Linked DNA regions of Homo sapiens: regions 2 and 3 are each linked to region 1. Evidence: promoter capture Hi-C in human tissues and cell types (Jung and others, 2019). All regions are on one chromosome and are shown on one strand. Each heading gives the region's core, a stretch centred on a gene start or on the middle of the fragment in contact. The rest is flanking DNA. Distances are from core to core; before and after follow the strand shown. Region 1 holds the start of MRAP2 (melanocortin 2 receptor accessory protein 2). Region 2 overlaps CEP162 (centrosomal protein 162). Region 3 overlaps RIPPLY2-CYB5R4 (RIPPLY2-CYB5R4 readthrough).

What was found. Contacts are between HindIII fragments. The study calls those that stand out against the background at their distance.
Region 2: a fragment that was not itself captured here is called in contact with the fragment with the promoter of MRAP2 in region 1 in 1 of the 25 tissues and cell types used here (H1 embryonic stem cells).
Region 3: a fragment that was not itself captured here is called in contact with the fragment with the promoter of MRAP2 in region 1 in 1 of the 25 tissues and cell types used here (hippocampus).

What each region holds. Positions count from the first base shown.
Region 1 is chr6:84,031,934-84,035,937 of GRCh38, forward strand. It overlaps MRAP2 (melanocortin 2 receptor accessory protein 2), which reads left to right and starts at 1,839. Exons shown (of 4, transcript NM_138409.4): 1 at 1,839-1,950. The HindIII fragment of the contact is 8,786 bases long and covers 1-3,742 here.
Region 2 is chr6:84,191,806-84,195,809 of GRCh38, forward strand. CEP162 (centrosomal protein 162) reads right to left here. Exons shown (of 27, transcript NM_014895.4): 10 at 3,079-3,270; 11 at 1,804-1,885. Among named protein-coding and RNA genes, the nearest start is that of CEP162, 34 kb to the right of the region's middle. The HindIII fragment of the contact is 5,582 bases long and covers 1-4,004 here.
Region 3 is chr6:83,862,193-83,866,196 of GRCh38, forward strand. RIPPLY2-CYB5R4 (RIPPLY2-CYB5R4 readthrough) reads left to right here. Exons shown (of 18, transcript NR_174604.1): 4 at 1,983-2,136. It overlaps CYB5R4 (cytochrome b5 reductase 4), which reads left to right. Exons shown (of 16, transcript NM_016230.4): 2 at 1,983-2,136. Among named protein-coding and RNA genes, the nearest start is that of CYB5R4, 4.5 kb to the left of the region's middle. The HindIII fragment of the contact is 4,744 bases long and covers 1-4,004 here.

The sequences.
Region 1 (4,004 bases), core at 589-3,088:
TTCCATATGTTTGTTGGCTGCATAAATGTCTTCTTTTGAGAAGTATCTGTTCATATCCTTTGCCCACTTTTTGATGGGGTTGTTTTCTTCTTGTAAATTTGTTTAAGTTGCTTGTACATTCTGGATATTAGACCTTTGTCAGATGGATAGATTGCAAAAATTTTCTCCCATTCTGTAGGTTGCCTGTTCACTCCAAATGCCCATCAATGATAGAATGGATAAAGAAAATGTGGCACACATACACCATAGAATACTATGCAGCCATAAAAAAGGATGAGTTTGTGTCCTTTGCAGGGACATGGATGAAGCTGGAAACCACCATTCTCAGCAAACTAACACAGGAACAGAAAACCAAATGAGCATGTTCTCACTCATAAGTGGGAGTTGAACAGTGAGAACACATGGACACAGGGAGGGGAACATCATACACCGGGGCCTGTCGGGGGTGGGCGGCAAGGAGAGGAAGAGCATTAGGACAAATACCTAATGCAAGCGGGGCTTAAAACCTAGATGACAAGTTGATAAATGCAGCAAACCACGCTGGCACATGTATACCTATGTAACAAATCTGTACATTCTGCACATGTATCCCAGAACTTAAAATTAAAAAAAAGAAGAAGAAGAAAAATGGTGTTCAAAATATTTCATTTTACAAGTGGTAATGAAACTGAGCTTTTAAAAAAAAATCAGTGATGAGATGTCATTTCCAGGAATCCTCTTTTGGCACCACCAGCTTGAGTTCATCACACTGCCACCAGCCTGCATGGGTGCTGCATTTCCCCTGCTGCTGTATAATGGTGGTTAAACTATGGTTCTGGGGCACCAGGCTTCCTGACCTTGAAGGCAAGCTCCTCTATTGACTAGCATATGACCTTGGGCAGTTCCTTTAACCTTCCTAAGTTACAGTTTCTCATCAGTAAAATGGAAATGGTGGCAATACCTGTCTAATATGGCATATGGAGAGTAGTAAAAGAAATGACTAGTGCAGTAAAGAACATCTCAGTGCCTGCCACACAGCAAGTGCTTTCTCTCCAGATACCAGCGTGACTTCTTTCTGTCTCATCTCCTTTAGATCTTTACTCCACTGTGAAGCCATCTTTGACCATCCCATTTAAAAATGCACCCCCTACCTCCAAACATTATCCCATTTCCTCCCTTCTTTTTTGTCCACCGCACTTCATCACTATCTCACATACTATGTATTTTAGTTATTTGTTATGTTTATGCCTGTCTCTTTAGTAGAATGCAAGCACCAAGCACCTGTATTCCCAGATCAATGCCTGGCATGCAATAAGGACTCAAGGGAGGAAGAGATGAGCCAGCCCTGCTATGCTGAAACTACTCCCGGCCCAGTGCTAGCCCTTTGGGACCCCGTTTGAACGTCTGACTGCCCTTTGACACCTGGACCAGTGGGCAGGAAGAGAAACTAAAATCGAGGTAGTAATTTAAGCAGCACATTATGGGGGGGCTCTGGCCTTACTGAACTTGAACTCAATGCTGCCGATTTTTCATAAGCCTTGATTCATGATACCCCACTCCCTCTTGCTCAGCTAATGAGCTCCTCCTGTTACCCAAAGTTGACCCGAGGGACCCACTGCAGAGCCCGGGATGGCAAAGAATTCTCTGACTCAGGCTCTGACCCGGACTCGGAGGGGCAAAGTGAGCAGGAAAGGGATCTGCAAAGCTCACCTCCTCTTGGCCAAGGCGGCCTCGCGCTGGGGAGGCGGCTCTCGCGCTGGGGAGGCGGCTCCCGCGCTGCAGCCCTGCTCCGGCGCCCCGCGCCGCCTCCGCTGCGGGTCGGGAGCGCGCGTCTCCGCCGCACCTCGGATCTAGGAGCTACTCGCCCGGCCCTGGGCGGTGGGAGGCGGCGGCGGCGGCGGCGCTCGCGCACCTCGGAGGAGCCAGGAGCCGGAACCAGGGCCGAGCCCGCGGGCCGGGGCTAGCCAGCCGGTAACCACGGGCGGGACAGGGCGCCCAGGGCGGAGCAAAGCCCGGGCGCTGGGTGCGGGGCGCGTGCAGCTTTGGTCAAGGCAGGGCTTGCTTGGGTTTGGGGGCAGTCTTTAGTTTAGAGGGGCTAGAGAATGGGGTGGGAGGAGGAGAATTGGGGTGTGAGGACGCCCACGGGAAGAGTGTGGACCCCGTGGAGAGCACCAAGTTTAAAACCTTCCCGGCAGCCCGCTGATGTGCGTGTGGACGCCGCTGGGCGTCCGAAAAGCCTGGAAGCGGCGGCGCTCGGGGCTTGGGTGGGCTTCCTCCCCTCCGCTGGGCCCCAGCGGCCGAGGCACACCCTTTCCCGCTGGTGAGAAAACTTTCCTTGCTGCGGCCCTCCTGCCGCCTTGGTGCCCTGCAACTGAGAGAGCCCCCCTGGGCTGGGGAAATGTGCTGGCTCCTGGCCCCGGGCGCGCCTCCATGCACTGGGCAGGGTTCTCAGATGATGCCTGGCTTGACAGTTGCTCATTCATTTTGTTTGGACTGGGGAGCCTGCTCGCAGGTCGTGTTACTGATTAGAGGGAAATAGGGGTTTTACACTTTCCCCGCCGCCCCACCCCGCAACCCGCCCCCGCTCCCCCCGCCCGCCCCGCGCCCCGTGCCCCGTGCCTTTCCCATCCTTTCTGTGTAATTAATTGAGGAAGGCAAAGAGTAGTCTCTGCAGAAACCTGTTTGGAGGCGTTGTGGTTTCCACAGCATGTTAGATGGCACAGAATCTCAGCCACTACTCTGCATTTAGTTTGACAACAGTGAAACACTCTGGTGTTTTGAAGGCAAAGGAAGCTTGAGGGAATGTGTCCAGGGAGACGAGAGAAGGGAACTCTTATGCATAAATTAATTCTTACGAAAACCCCAAAAGTAAACAGTAGTATTTTCAGTTTGCAGGTAGAGAAAATTAGATTGCGATATTAAATACGTTTTCCAAGGTGACTGCCCCAGTTAAGTAATAGTGGGGAGTAGGGGTCTGGAAGCTAGGACTGTGAGTCTAGTTTCCTTTAGGTACATTGCATGGGGTACACAGACAAGAACAGGTGCAGGAGAGTGACGAGGGCCTGCAAGGATAAGGTCAGGAAAGCCAGAGGCCACTGTGAGCTGGGGTACCCACAAGGAGTTTCGTTCTTATGAGGAAGATCATCCAGTGTTTATGGAAGAATAGATAATATTAACAGGTGATAGGAAAAGGAAGAGTTGCTTCCAGTCTGTATCTTTCTTTTCAAAGTGAGGCCAGCCTAAACCCTTTAAAGAGGGTCTCGAAGCCCGAAACTGGACTGGATTGTTCAAAACCCAAATGGCAGACGTCCTAGAGTAGTGAAAGCGGTTACAGTCATCTTTGTGCAGGTATGAGAGATGAGAATGGACCCAGGAGACTTTTTAAAAGAGGGAAACATTGAATCCTGGCAACATTCTAGAACAAATTCTTTAAGATAGCTCAAAACTACCTAGGGAAGCATTTACAAATACTTACGCCAAACCAACTCCCTTCCCTTTTCTAGCAATCTACTGGGATATAGATCAGGGTATGCTGTATCCATTGTCTTCAAATGTGGGCTGTGACTCATTAGGCTAATGATCAGTTTAGTGAGTTGCAAATAGCAGTTTTTAAAACATGAAAGCCAAGAGAAAGAAAGATAAGATATCAGAGTGCATTGCAGGAGCAAGGGAAAGTACTGTTTTGTGAAGCGCGCGCTGGTGATGCATGTGTCCTGTTCTGTGTTGCTGATCCTGCTGCCTCTGCGTGAGTGTTCATACCCATCGCTAGCTGCCCCCTTTCAGCCTTCTGAGCTAGCCCCATTCTGGTCACAGTGGGGGTCATCTTCTTTTACCTTGCAGATTATGTCATCAACATATTCTGGAAAGCTGTTCGCTTCCTCCTCCCCATTTCTGTTGGCCCCCAGATGCTGAGGTATTTTGCCAATCAGAATTCATCTCTGAATTATTTATCTGTGACCTTTTTTGATAGTCACAGTTCATAGATAACTTTTATCAAACATATTAAATTAGTTCAAATTGTATAA
Region 2 (4,004 bases), core at 1,104-3,603, 160 kb after region 1:
CTGACTAGATACTGACCAAACTCATTTTTCTTTCTTGGCACAGAAACAAACGACATTTCACAGCCTCCTTGGACCTAGTTAGCTAGATGTGCTGGTTCCTACCAATGGAATGTGAGCTGAAGTGATATGAAACTTCTGTATTAAGGCAGTTAAAAGAAAGGACGCAAAACCATTCTCTTTCTTTCCTTACTGACTGGTTGGATGATGTCATAACAATCTTAAAACTATGTGTTGATGACAAGCAGCCTGGGTTCCTAAATGACTGTGTGGAGCAGAGCCCCAATCCAACCCCACTGACCCACAAGGGATAGTGATGTGAGCAAGAAATACATTTTTGATGACAAGCTACTAAGATTTCAAGGATTATGTTATAGCAGCTAGGGTCATTTACTCCATAGTTTACCAAAAAATTTTTAGGTATGTGTACTAAAGATCATATTACTGACATTTCTATTACGTATGATTACTGTTATACCTTCAAAATATCTGTTTTAAGCTTTTAAACACAAATGTAAAAATCTGTTTTAGAATTCCTATTACTGAAATGGTTTTACCTATAACAACAAAGATATAAGATGTGTAAGAAAATCTCTGTAGTTACCGCTAACATACTCCCAAACAGCAATGATGAGTGGTACCATCTCTCCTTTAAAAATACTAATTAGCACTACAGATCAATGGAAGACTACTACACTTAGCATTGAAGTGAATGAATTTTAGTGGAAGGTTCACTGCATCATTTTTTTCTCAACTCACACAAATGTAGAAACAAGGCCAGGAGATCACCACATGTGGATTTACATCATGAGGATACAGTATAGGAAGGAGGCTGAAAACATGTCTGTTGAAGACACAAATGAACAAATGACAACATGAATGGATGACAGACTATTTCACAGAAGTATTTTATGGAGATCAAAGACCTGACAATGTAAGTGGTTAAGCACATGGATGGCCTGTGTTCCTGGTCTACAACTATATGACCTTGGGCAATGGCTTTATTTATTTTAATCTCTTAGGCTTCAATCTTCTTGTCTATGAAATAGGGATAATAATGGAGTATAACCCATGGAGATGCTGTAAGGTTAAATTAAATAATATACGTATAGTATGTGCCCAAAGTAAATGTGAAAAATGTTAGCTGTTATCATCTACCAGTAAATTGAGTTAATCTCAGGTGCATTTCTTGAATTATGGGCATAAAGATGCATTCTCTACTTGTTATGAGGATCACGTGGGAGACTGGACATGACATTTCAGTGCTACATAAAAGCAACGCTGTCTATTACAAGGTTACTGTGACATGTTACTCCGTGTTGAAGAATGACAGTGGGTCACACATACTTCCACTAAACTGTATTGGACCTGAAGCATTTTAATGAGGACCATTTCTCTTGTGGCTACAAACTCACCCTGTGAGATGACAGCCAGTCTGTGACTAAGTCAAAACTAACTGGTTTATAAAGAAGGAAATCTATGACTCATAAACATAATAAAATTCACTTTCTCCCTCATCATGAATGAACTGTTCCGGCACTATTTAAAGCTGAGGAGACTGTATTTTTCAGTGAAAACCTTTAGGACTATTTAGTGGCCCCAGTTTTTTTATAGCATCTATTTATTTTTTCATTTAGCCCTAGAATTTTGATGACTTGAGTAAGGACAAATATAAAAAGAAGAGAGTTATGACTCACAGGTAGAGTCAAGCTAGTATTAGTCATTAATCATTCACTAGGAATGATTACATAGAACAAATGACTATAAAAGTTTCCAATGACAAAACAATAAATAAAAAATTCATACCTGACAGGTTGTAAATCAAAACCACTGATCCCAAAGGAATCTATTCTGATAGGTTTCATCAGCTCCTCTACTGTGGGCAGATCTAAGAGGTGGAAAAAAAAGTAGAAACGAAAAATGTTATGTAGGTTGCTTAATTTACATGTGTAATAACACCAAAATTATATTTTCTCTGACACAGTTAATAAAACGGTACATGCAATAAACCTAGTTTTCCGTCTTAAGTTTCCTTATACCAGGAAAACTTCCTTTCTTATGAAATATCAAATAAATATCTCAAATATCAATATCAAATATATTTATCAAAAAATATCTATACATACACACACGCTAAGTACATATTTGGTTGATCCTGAAATACTGTTGTCTAACAAAATACAACTTTAATATACGTACATACAAAAGAGTAAAAAATATCCCTTTAAATGACTTCTTAATTTGATCAAGGCATATTAGAAAAGAAACTGGGCCAGGCGCAGTGGCTCATGCCTGTAATCTCAGCACTTTGGGAGGCCAAGGCAGGTGGATCACCTGAGGTCAGGAGTTCGAGAGCAGCCTGACCAACATGCCAAAACCCCATCTCTACTAAAAAGACAAAAATTAGCTGGGCATGGCAGCAGGCACCTGTAATCCCAGCTATGCAGGAGGCTGAGGCAAGAGAATTGCTTGAACCAGGGTGGCGGAGGCTGCTGTGAGCCGAGATCGTGCCATTGCACTCCAGCCTGGGCGACAGAGCAAGACTCCGTCTCAAAAAAAAAAAAAGAAAAGAAAAGAAAGTGAAATTTCGTTTTGTGTTTGGCTCTAATTTTATAGTTAAACCAAGGGTTCCTGTATTTCATTTGAAAAAATCTTTTTTTTTTTTTTTTAAGGCAGAGTCTCACTCTGTTGCCAGGCTGGAGGAGCAGTGGCGCAATATTGGCTCACTGCAACCTTCGTCTCCCGTGTTCAAGTGATTCTCCTGCCTCAGGCTCCCGAGTAGCTGGGACTATAGGCGTGTGCCACCATGCCCAGCTAATTTTTGTATTTTTAGTAGAGATGGGGTTTCACCATGTTGCCCAGGATGGTCTCAATCTCTTGACCTCGTGATCCACCCACCTCGGCCTCCCAAAGTGCTGGGATTACAGGCATCAGCCACCTCGCCTGGCTGAAAAAATTTCTTTAATTAAGCTCAGAGACTGAGAAACAATCACTACAGCAAATTGTATTTTAATTATATTACACTAAAAACTCTTTAGAAAGGATATCAAATAATTGAAAAATTCATCTGTAAGTTTTTACCAGATTCCATAGTAGAGATGTTTTTTGAATTCTCTTCATTTTCTTGAGGATGACCTTTCACTGAGCTCTTGATATCTTCCACTGTGTTACTCTCAATTTTTTGTTTGTCTTCATCTCCCAATGAATGGGCTATATGACAATAAGCTTGATGTAGGGCTTCAACGTCACTACTGCTTTGTCCATAAGAAACACCTGTTGAAATAAACGTAATCACCAGAAATAATTACATCACAAATACATGAGAACGATAAAACACTAATATCATTCCTTAACCTGTTAGGAATATAAAAGTAGAGTTAAGTACTAACTAGGTAATTTGCAGCTATGGCCTACCAGCATGGATTCATAGCAGGCTCAACAACTCTTTTAGCAAACTGAGGCGTGTCCTGATGTGGTAAGCATAAAATCTGCTTTCACTCGTCATTGTTCTTTCTCCTACTATTCTTAATCGACCCCCTCTGCATAACTATTCTTAAGTTTCCCAAACTAAAAAATTCCTTTGACGGATTCTACCTCTCCTTTACCATTACCATTCTCTCTGCTTCTCTGTACCACCAAGCATCTTGTCATTTGCACTTTTTCAACCACAATGAATTCACTCCTCCAACTTTGCAATCCAATGTATTCCAACATCCTGCTAAAGCTGCTATGATCAAAAGCAATTTCCTAATGACCAACTCCATTTGTATTTAGTTCTCTTCAACTATGTGAGACATCTGACATTATCTTTTTCACTTTATCTTAGCCAAAAGGCAGAGAAGTCAAACATTGTTTTTTTTCCTGTAACTGTTTCTTCTGCATGCCTTCTTCTTTTTGTTATTACCATAATTTTGAGGGCAATTTTCCAACTCTTGCGGTCTATAGTTCATTTCAGGGCTCCATCTTCAGCCCTCTTCTTTTGAATGCCTCTCACTTACTAGTTTTTT
Region 3 (4,004 bases), core at 910-3,409, 170 kb before region 1:
TGCTACTTGTCCTGAGGCTTTTATTCAGATCTCACAGACTTGAGTGTGACACAGAATATGCACTCAACATATGATAGTTATTATTTCTATTAATACTGGTAAACAAATACTTATTGAGAACCTACCATATGCTGGAGTTTTTGGTCTCTGATTTCAAGGTGTTTAGTCTCATAGGTTGCATGAAATAGTGAACATTCAGTTATAAAGTCATAAGTACTACAACAGGGTGGTATGACCACTAAGGAGTTGAGGATCAGAGAAGCCTTCCAGAGGAATTAATGGGAGTTGGAGTGAGGTTGATCCATGCAGGGAAAGCAACACTACTATAAGCAAGTACTTGACAGCAATAAAGGAATCAAATAATCAGTTCCCATTTGGCTAAAGTATATAATGGAAAGGAGCAAAAGTTAGAACATGGAGCTAGTACAGTCAACTGTGACCAGATTGTGAAGACCTGGTAAATCCCTAGGGAATTTAGAGACGTTGTTGTAAGGTGACCTGAGGAGCCACTGAAGGAGGGAGAGCCTGTGATTAGATTTGCATTTCTGAAAGATTGCTTTAACTATCCTGTGGATTATGGAATGGAGAGAGGTGAGTGATTTTAGTTTGGGATGGGAAAGGTCATTTTCTCACACTTCATTTATTGGGATCAAGAGACCTAGAGTTTCAGTGATAGCCAGAATGGAATGATGTAGATTGATAGGATAGAATGTGAAAGGCACCACAGACCTATTAACTTGGTTACTTTGGGAGTAAATGGATGTCTAAAATAGATATGATTCAGGAAAGTGAGATATGTAAACATCCTTGAATGTGTCTGCTTTTACATTAAACATTCTTCTGTTACTACGTTACAAATTAGTCAGACAAGCTTAGTTCCATAGAGATATCTTGAAAATGTTCTGGTCAAAGTACTAATAATACTTCTCGTCTGAAAACTTTGAAAATGTGTTTTATAAAACAAAACAAAATAAAAACCCAAACCATCCTGTTACTAAGTTCCCTAGGCAAGGGTTGGCAGTTTTTTTTCTGCAAAGGGCCAGGTGGTGTTTTCGGCTTTGAGAGCCTCATAAGGTTTCAGGCTCTTTACCACCACATGTGAAGACGATTCTTTGCTCAAGGGCTGTATAGAAACAGGTACAGGCCATAGTTTGCCACCCCTTCCCTACAGTGTTACAAGTTTTATTTTCCATTATTTGATAAACTTTGTTACTCAATGGATTCTTAGATAAGATTGCTATCTAATGATTTCTAATAGTCTGTTTATCTTGACAGTCCAGAAAATCAACTATAGTTAATTGTCTCTTTACCTTTTCTTCTGTCAAATCTCTTTGATTTTTAAGGTGAAGAAATTTTGGTCCAAACTGGTTAACTGTAACATATTAATGTCAGAGCCAGGACCAGAACCTCTTTTCTAGTTTCTGGTTCAATACCATTCCTGTTATATGGTCAGCCCTGTGTAGCCCTGGGTTCCGCGTCCAAGGATTCAACCAACTTTAGATCAAAAATATTTGGGGAAAAAAATTAAAAATAACAATACAACAATAAAAAAATAAGAATTATAAAACAATGCAATACAACAACCATTTACATAGCATTTACATTGCTTTAGGTATTATTAGTAATCTAGAGATTATTTAAAGTATATGTGAGAATGTTCATAGGTTATATGTCAGTACTTTGCCATTTTATATGAGACACTTGAGCATCCTGGATTTTGGTATAGGGTAGGGGGAAGTCCTAGGACCAGTCCCCCAGGAATACTGATAGACTACTGTACTGTGACATCAATATGGTGAAAATTTGTGTGGTAGAATTTCTAAGCCCTACCTTTTATAATTCAAATACAGCATAAACAATGTTGACAGCCTCTTAAAACTGTAAAAGGATTTATAGAAGTGTTAGATTTGAGTTTTATTATCTTTTAAAATGGAATTAAAAGTAATGAAGCTAGATTTAATTCTTCCTTTTTCCATTTTTAGGTACCTTTAAAACAGGGCAGAAGCCTTATGGATTGGATTCGACTGACCAAAAGTGGAAAGGATCTAACGGGATTAAAAGGCAGGTTAATTGAAGTAACTGAAGAAGAACTTAAGAAACACAACAAAAAAGATGATTGTTGGATATGCATAAGAGGTAGGTGGTATTTATTAAGTCCTTCAAAAAATGTTGCCTGAACTTTCCAATTATGATGTTACATAACCTCACAGTCATGTTATTTTAAACAATTGACAATTTAACAAAAATATGCCTTGTGCTTGACAATAACTTATATAATTCTGACTTTGGATAGTATTTCTTCCTTAGGTAACCATTATATTCTGATGCAGAAAACAGTGAACTTCTGATACGAAAAAGTTTTTCTTGCTTCCTTGTACTGCATTTCCTTTGAAAGGAAACAAGCATTTGCCAGGCAATATAGTACAAAATTATTTGGTAAAATCCAGTTTATATAGCAATAACTTTCTGTCTCAGAGCCTTATAACAGAATTCTGTTGGAAAAAAAAAATCTCTGAGAATCTAAAGTAAACCTGAAAGTCCTGCATTAAAGCCAAATCTTCAGTTTTCACTTGCAGCAATTTTCATTACATGGTATATGTTTCTTAGCAATATTAGTTACTTGATTTTGTTTAGCTCAGAGTGCATTAGAAACTCCAAATTAAATATAAATGTATTGGAGGAGGTGAGCAGGCAGACAAGAAGGTAGCTGATAAAAGCTGACTTTGTGGTAGCCAACAACCTGATATCTAGTAGGGGAACAAAAATAAAAATGAAAGGCATCCAACTATACCATGAGGCTCCATGCATGGTTAACTGTGTTTACCATCTGTTTAGAGAGGAAGGGAAATATATCATTTTTGTTCTTAATGCAATTGTAATTTTATCATTGTATAATTTTGGTTTGTTGTCAGTTATCCTGACTGCACTATAACCTATATGAGGGCAGGGACATTGTTGGTCTTACTGCTCTGTCCTGAGTGGCTGGCACATAGAGGCCATTGACTTGTATTTGTTCAATGAGTGTAACACTTACTTTTAAGAAGTATGGTCACTTAAAGAGGTATCTGGTGGTTTTCACAGTGGATTGGTGATATCAACACCAATAAATGCTGTATTAATTTCCTATGGATGCCGTAACAAAGGACCACAAACTAGATGGCTTAAACAACAGAAATTTGTCTCATAGTTTTGATGGCTAGAAGTCTGTGATTAGGGTGTCAGCAGGGTTCGTTCCTTCTGATGACTGAGTAACAATTTGTTCCATGCCTCTCACCTAGCTTCTGGTGGTTTGCTGGCAATCTTTGGAGTTCCTTGGCTTATAGAACATTACCCTAATATCTGACTTCATCTTCACGTGGCATATTCCCTATGTGCTTGTCTGTGGTCAGATTTTCTGTTTTTATATGGACCCTAATCATACTCGATTAGGGACCTCCCCTACTCCAGTATGACCTCATTTAATTTTGCATCTGTAACAACCCTATATCCAAATAAGGTCATATTCTGAGCTACTGATGGTTAGGACTTCAACCTATGAATTTGGAGGGGGACACAGTTCCACCCATAACAGACACAATTAGAGTGTGAAATTTTCAGTGGCAAAGGGTATGGAAACTTCCAGCAGGTGATGACGTAGTTTATATTGAGACATAACAGGTGTTCAGCTCCCCAAAGTTCCTCAGAGACCTACAAATGTGAATGGTACCAGCAATCTGGAATGAGGATTCTGGCAGGTGCAAAAAGATCCTTTTGACATTTTATAGGGTTTTTGCCACCCTCTTTATCCTTCCTTCATGCTCCCTATCTGTTTACCAGCTGCAAGTAACTGGTACAAAATGACTTCCCCATTGTGCCTGAGTGTTTTCTGCTAGATAGGGTGAAGTCAAGATTAATTTCCCAAGAACACCTTTCAGCTGGCCCAGGCTGCAGGCATGCCTGAGTTCTGTTTCTGCACTAGGAAACCACTTTAGAAAACTTGATTATGTGAACCCTTCATATCCTAG